Linked DNA regions of Homo sapiens: region 1 is linked to region 2. The links are contacts of gene promoters, found by promoter capture Hi-C in human tissues and cell types (Jung and others, 2019). All regions are on one chromosome and are shown on one strand. The core of a region is centred on a gene start or on the middle of the fragment in contact, and the rest is flanking DNA. Distances in the headings are between cores, read along the strand shown.

The links. The method cuts DNA at HindIII sites, captures the fragments that hold promoters and counts their contacts. A contact is called where the count stands out against the background at its distance.
Region 1: a fragment that was not itself captured here is called in contact with the fragment with the promoter of ACSBG2 in region 2 in 1 of the 25 tissues and cell types used here (stomach).

What each region holds. Positions count from the first base shown.
Region 1 is chr19:6,081,950-6,084,863 of GRCh38, reverse strand. All of the region lies in intron 1 of RFX2 (regulatory factor X2), which reads left to right. Among named protein-coding and RNA genes, the nearest start is that of RFX2-AS1, 21 kb to the right of the region's middle. The HindIII fragment of the contact is 5,805 bases long and covers 1-2,914 here.
Region 2 is chr19:6,134,407-6,137,364 of GRCh38, reverse strand. ACSBG2 (acyl-CoA synthetase bubblegum family member 2) reads right to left here and starts at 1,698. Exons shown (of 15, transcript NM_030924.5): 1 at 1,456-1,698. The region is part of intron 3 of LOC105372255 (a long non-coding RNA gene); the gene reads left to right. RefSeq lists enhancers at 928-1,830, 1,831-2,734. The HindIII fragment of the contact is 13,898 bases long and covers 90-2,958 here.

The DNA of each region.
Region 1 (2,914 bases), core at 69-2,568, 52 kb after region 2:
TCAGGAGTTTGAGACCAGCCTGGCCAACATGGTGAAACCCAGCCTCTACTAAAAATATAAAATTAGCCGGGCGTGGTGGCAGGCACCTGTAATCCCAGCTACTTGGGAGGCTGCAGCAGGAGAATCACTTGAACCCAGGAGGCAGAGGTTGCAGAGAGCCAAGATCGCACCACTGCACTCCTGCCTGGGCAACAAGAGCGAGATTCTGTCTCAAAAAAAAGAAAGAAAGAAAGAAAAAAAAGGACAAATCCAGTGTGATTCCACCCCTAGGAGGTCCCTAGAGTCATCAGATCCATAGCGACAGAAAGTAGAATGGTGGGTGCCAGGGGCTGGGGAGGGGGTAGGGAGTGAGTGTTTCATGGGGACAAAGTTTCAATTTGGGAAGATGAGAATGTTCTGGAGATGGATGGAGGTGATGGTTGCACAACAGTGTGAGTGTGCTTAATGCTACTGAACTGTATATTAAACATGGTTAAAATGGTAAATTGTACATTATGCACATTTTACCACAATTAATGATAAAGAGTAATTGACTCGTCATATTTCCCAGCATTACTTTACTAGGAGGCATATGCTTTTTATGGTTTGCCTCTAGTAAGTCCCTACGCTGTCCTGCTAAAGCAGAGGATCACAGCTTTAATAAAGACCCTAAATATTTATCTTGCCTGTGGTCATGTATAGCTGAACAATGCACAGCGAACTCATTTAGTTTCCATGCGCTTAACTGGGCTAACTCTGCTTTTGAGCCTAATGGAAAGCTTGGGGCAGGTGGAGGACCGGTTCTTTAGCACTCACAGACGATTCCCACACCACACTCCCATATCCGGTCTTCTCTGCCGAGAATTCTCCCTGCCCAAGAGGTCTGGGGTGCCCTGGACACGTGTGCTCATCTCCTGTATTTGGAGATCTGGGGCTGGGAAGAGAATGTAAAGCAACCTAAACAGTAATTTAAGAATGGAGAAAATGGGACTAAATTATTCAGACACGTTTGAGTGCCTACTCGCTAGCAGGCATTTTCCGCTGCCTATAATTATGAGTAAGACATGTTCCCCCAAAGGCCATCCAAGATAGGGGTCACAGCCTGGGCAAGATGGTGAGACCCCATCTGTACAAAAAATTAAAAAATTACCCGGGCATGGTGGCACATACCTGTGGTCTCAGCTTCTGGGGAAGCTGAGCAGGAGGATCACTTGAGCTCTGGAAGTGGAGGCTGCAGTGAGCCATGTTTGCACCACTGCACTCCAGCCTGGATGACAGAGCAAGACCCGGCCTCAGAATAAATAAATAAATGAATAAAAATTAAAAAAAAAAAAAACGGGTCAGCAGACTACATCTAGCACACTACTGTGGGTTTTTATTTTTGTTTTTAGTTTCCACGAGTTGAGAATATTTTTTGCGTTTTTAAATGATTGGAAACAAGACAAAATATTTTGTGACACATGAAAATGATATGAAATTAAATTTCAGTGTCCATAAATAAAGATTTATTGGAACAGCACCAGCACCAGGGTCAGAACTAGCATGAGGCAGTGAGGCCCTCGCCTGGGATGCAAAATTTAAGGCAGTGCCTACAAAAATCCACAGTCATCAAGATACACAATGTTTTAATGCAGTATTTTAAAAAATCAAAATAAATGCCAAAAAATTTCATGATGAAGGCCGGGCACAGTGGCTCATGCCTGTAATTCTAGCACTCTAGGAAGCCAAGGCGGGTGGATCACTTGAGGCCAGGAGTTCAAGACCAGCCTGGACAACAGGGTGAAACCCCGTCTCTACAAACAATACAAAAATTAGCTGGGGGTAGTGGCACGTGCCCGTACTCCCTGAGCCCAGGGAGGTTGAGGCTGCAGCGAGCCGTGTTTGTGCCACTGCAGCCTGGGCAACAGAATGAGACCCTGTCTCAAAAAAATAATGGGAAAAAAATTCCATGATGAGCAAAATGTTGAAATTTTACATAAAGACAGGATCAGCACTGCTGCTTCTTTTTCCTCTTTGCCCCAGGCTCTAGCATGGCTCTGAAAAGCGCTGAGTGCAGCGGCCACACTCACTCCTCCTACTGTCCAGAGGCAGAGTTGAGTAGTCTCAACAGAGACCTGCAAAGCCAAAAATGTGTATTTTCTGGCCCTTATAGAAAGTTTTCCAGTGGCTAACACCTGTAATCCCAACACTTTGGGAGGCCAAAGTGGGCGGATCCCATGAGCCCTGGAGTTCAAGACCAGTCTGGGCAACATGGCAAAACCTCATCTCTACAAAAAATACAAAAACTAGCTGAGAGTGGTGGTGCACGCCTGTGGTCCTAGCTACACGGGAGGCTGTGGTGGGAGGATGGCTTGAGCCCAGGAGTTAGAGGATGAAGTGAGCTGTGATCGCGCCACTGCACTCCAGCCTGTGTGACAGAGAAAGGCTCTGTCTCAAAGAAAAAAAGAAAACTTTCCAACCCCTGATAGACATCAATTCAGGAGAGAAGGACCCTCCTCTTACTATATTAATCCCCAGCAATGACTATAACCAAACTAGATTCAACATCTGGTCCATTTCCCCTGTCTACCATTTTTTTTTTTTTTTTTTTTGAGACAGGGTCTTACTCTGTTGCCCAGGCTGGAATGCAATGGAACGATCTCAGCTCACTGCAACCTCTGCCTCCTTGGTTCAAATGATTCTCCTGCCTCAGCCTCCCTAGTAGCCTCCCTAGTAGCTGGGATTACAGGTGTGCACCACCACACCCAGATAATTTTTGTTTTTGTTTTTGTTTTATTTTGTTTTGTTTTTGAGACGGAGTCTCACTCTGTCGCCTAGGCTAGAGTGCTGGAGTGCAGTGGCATGATCTCAGCTCACTGCAAGCTCCGCCTCCAGGTTCACGCCATTCTCCTGCCTCAGCCTCCAGAGTAGCTGGGACTACAGGTGCCCACCAGTA
Region 2 (2,958 bases), core at 449-2,948:
AACTCTCTTCCCCTCAGATAGCTGGGACTACAGAAGCATGCCACTACGCCTGGCTAATTTATTTTTATTTTTATTTTTGTAGAGCTGGGGGCCTCGCTATATTGCCCAGGCCGGTCTTGAACTCCTGGCCTCAAGCAAGCCCCCCCCCCCCCCCCAACCCCGCCACCTCGGCCTCCCAAAGTGCTGGGATTTGCAGGTGTGAGCCACCACACCAGGCCCCTCTTTTCTTTATAAATTGCCCATCTTCAGGTATTACTTTATGGCAATGCAAAATGGGCAAATAAAATTAGTATCCGGAGTATGAAAAGAACTCTGGATTTAAAAGACAAATGTAAACAACCCAGTGTTTTATGATGAAAAATGTAAACAGGCAGTTCACAAAAAAGGAGCCTGGAAAGGGCTACAAATCCTGGACAAGATGCTCAGTAGCTTTGGTCATCAGGGAACTGCACGTTAAAAATCACACGATCGGCCGGGTGCGGAGGCTCACACCTGTGATCCCAGCACTTTGGGAGGCCGTGGCAGGTGGATCACTTGAGCTCAGGAGTTCTCTACAGAGGACTTGTAAGTTACTAGTAATATTCGATTTCACGAAGTGAAAAGGGCACACAGATATTTATCGTTATTCATTAAATCGTACAGATATGCTTTGTGTTATTTTATATGCATTATATGTTTCACAATTTTAAAAGGCCATGTAGGGTTCAGATGTGGTGACTCACACCTGTAATCCCAGCACTTTGGGAGGCTGAGTCGGGTGGATCGCTTGAGGCCAGGAGTTCGAGACCAGCCTGGCTGGCATGGTGAAACCCCATCTCTACTAAAAATACAAAAATTAGCTGGGCATGGTGGCGCGTGCCTATAATCCCAGCACTTTGAGAGGTCGAGGCGGGTGGATCACCTGAGGTCAGAAGTTCAAGACCAGCCTGGCTGGTATGGCGAAACCCCATCTCTACTAAAAATATAAAAATTAGGCCGAGTATGGCGGCTCACGCCTGTAATCCCAGCACTTTGGGAGGCCAAGGCGGGTGGATCACGAGGTCAGGAGATTGAGACTATCCTGGCTAATGTGGTGAAACCCCATCTCTACTAAAAAATACAAAAAATTAGCCGGGCATGGTGGCAGGCACCTGTAGTCCCAGCTACTCAGGAGGCTGAGGCAGGAGAATGGTGTGAACCTGGGAGGCGAAGCTTGCAGTGAGCCGAGATTGCGCCTGGGCAACAGAGCAAGACTCTGTCTCAAAAAAAAAAAAAAAATTAGCTGGACATGGTGGCAGGCGCCTGTAATCTCAGCTACTTGGGAGGTTGAGGTGGGAGTATCACTTGAGCCTGGGAGGCAGAGGTTGCAGTGAGCTGAGATCGTGCCACTGCACTATAGCCTGGGCAAAAGAGTGAGACCCTGTCTCAAAAAAAAAAGAAAAGAAAACGCATGCCCTTCTCCCATACCACTGGCACCTGTCACTCTTCAAGAGGTGTGGTTCTGGCCATCTGGCAAGGCACCTGGAGCTGGGACATCTGGTCACTCAGGTGTTTTCTTCTTCCTGCAAAGACAGTCAACAGGTAGCCCCTCCTGGAAACCTGAACATGAGCTGCCCCTTCCCAGCCCCCGTCACCCTCTCCGTCCAGCCAGGATGATGGTGGTGGTGGGAGGCAGGAGGATGGGTGGTTTCCCTCCACAACAGGCCTTCTACCCCATTCAACCTTCCAGAACGTTCCATCCCAGCCACCTCTTGTGACATCACTGGCTGCCCCTGCCTCCGCACCCCACCCCCACCCCTAGGGGAAGCTGCTTCCAGGACAGGGAGATTGCTCTTTTCATGCATCATTCATTTATTCATGCATGCATGCACTTCTGCGTTGCATTCGTGACGTTTTTATGAAGCCATGACCCTAATGGCAGGGATTGTGCTGGATGCTGGAGACATAAAGATGAACAAAGCCAGATGAGGCCTGTTCAAGAAAATAAGAGGAGGCCTAGAATCACACAAACAAATGCAAACTTACCATTGTGAAGAGAGCCCCAAGGCATGTTGAGGGCTTGATCAAAGGATCCCGCCCAGGCAGGGAGTCTGGGAGTGGTTTCTTTCTTTTCTTTCGTTTTTTGAGACGGGAGTCTTGCTCTGTCACCCAGGCTGGAGTGCAATGGTGCGATCTCAGTTCACTGCAACGTCTGCCTCCCAGGTTCAAGCGATTCTCCTGCCTCAGCCTCCCGAGTAGCTGGGATTACAGGCGCCCGCCACCACGCCCGGCTAATCTTTTGTATTTTTAGTACAGACGGGGTTTCGCCATGTTGGCCAGGCTGGTCTCAAACTCCTGACCTTGTGATCCGCCCGCCTTGGCCTCCCAAAGTGCTGAGATGACAGGCGTGAGCCACCGCGCCTGGCCTGGGAGTGGTTTCTTGAGCTGGGATCTGAAGTATGCCTGGATGTTATTCCTGCCCTCGTGACTTTCTCTTACGCTGCCTGTCTTCATGTGTTTACAGCGGCCTCCCCCTTCTCGTTCTCTGCTTTAGTCACTGCTAACAATGTCCACTACCAGGCACAGTGGCTTGTGCCTGGAATCCCAGCACTTTGGGAGGCCAAGTCCGTAGCATCACTTGAGGCCAGGAGTTCAAAACCAGCCTGGGCAATGTAGTAAGACCCCGTCTCTACAGAAAAATTTAAAAAATTAGCCGGGCGTGGTGGTGCGCAAGTGTAACCACAGCTAGTAGGGAGGCTGAGGTGGGGGGATTGTTTGAGCCCAGGAGTTCCAGGCTGCAGTGAGCTGTGATGGTACCATGGCACTCCAGCCAGGCCTACAGAGCAAGACCTTGTCTCAAAACAAAAAAGACAAAACAGTGCCAGGTGCAGCACATACTAGATGCTCAGTAAATAAAGATGTAGCAACAGAATCTTGTGCTGTGCCAGGAGAAAAGGACAAGGAGTGTTCCTTTGTCTCCAGGGCCTTTTGTGTGTGTGT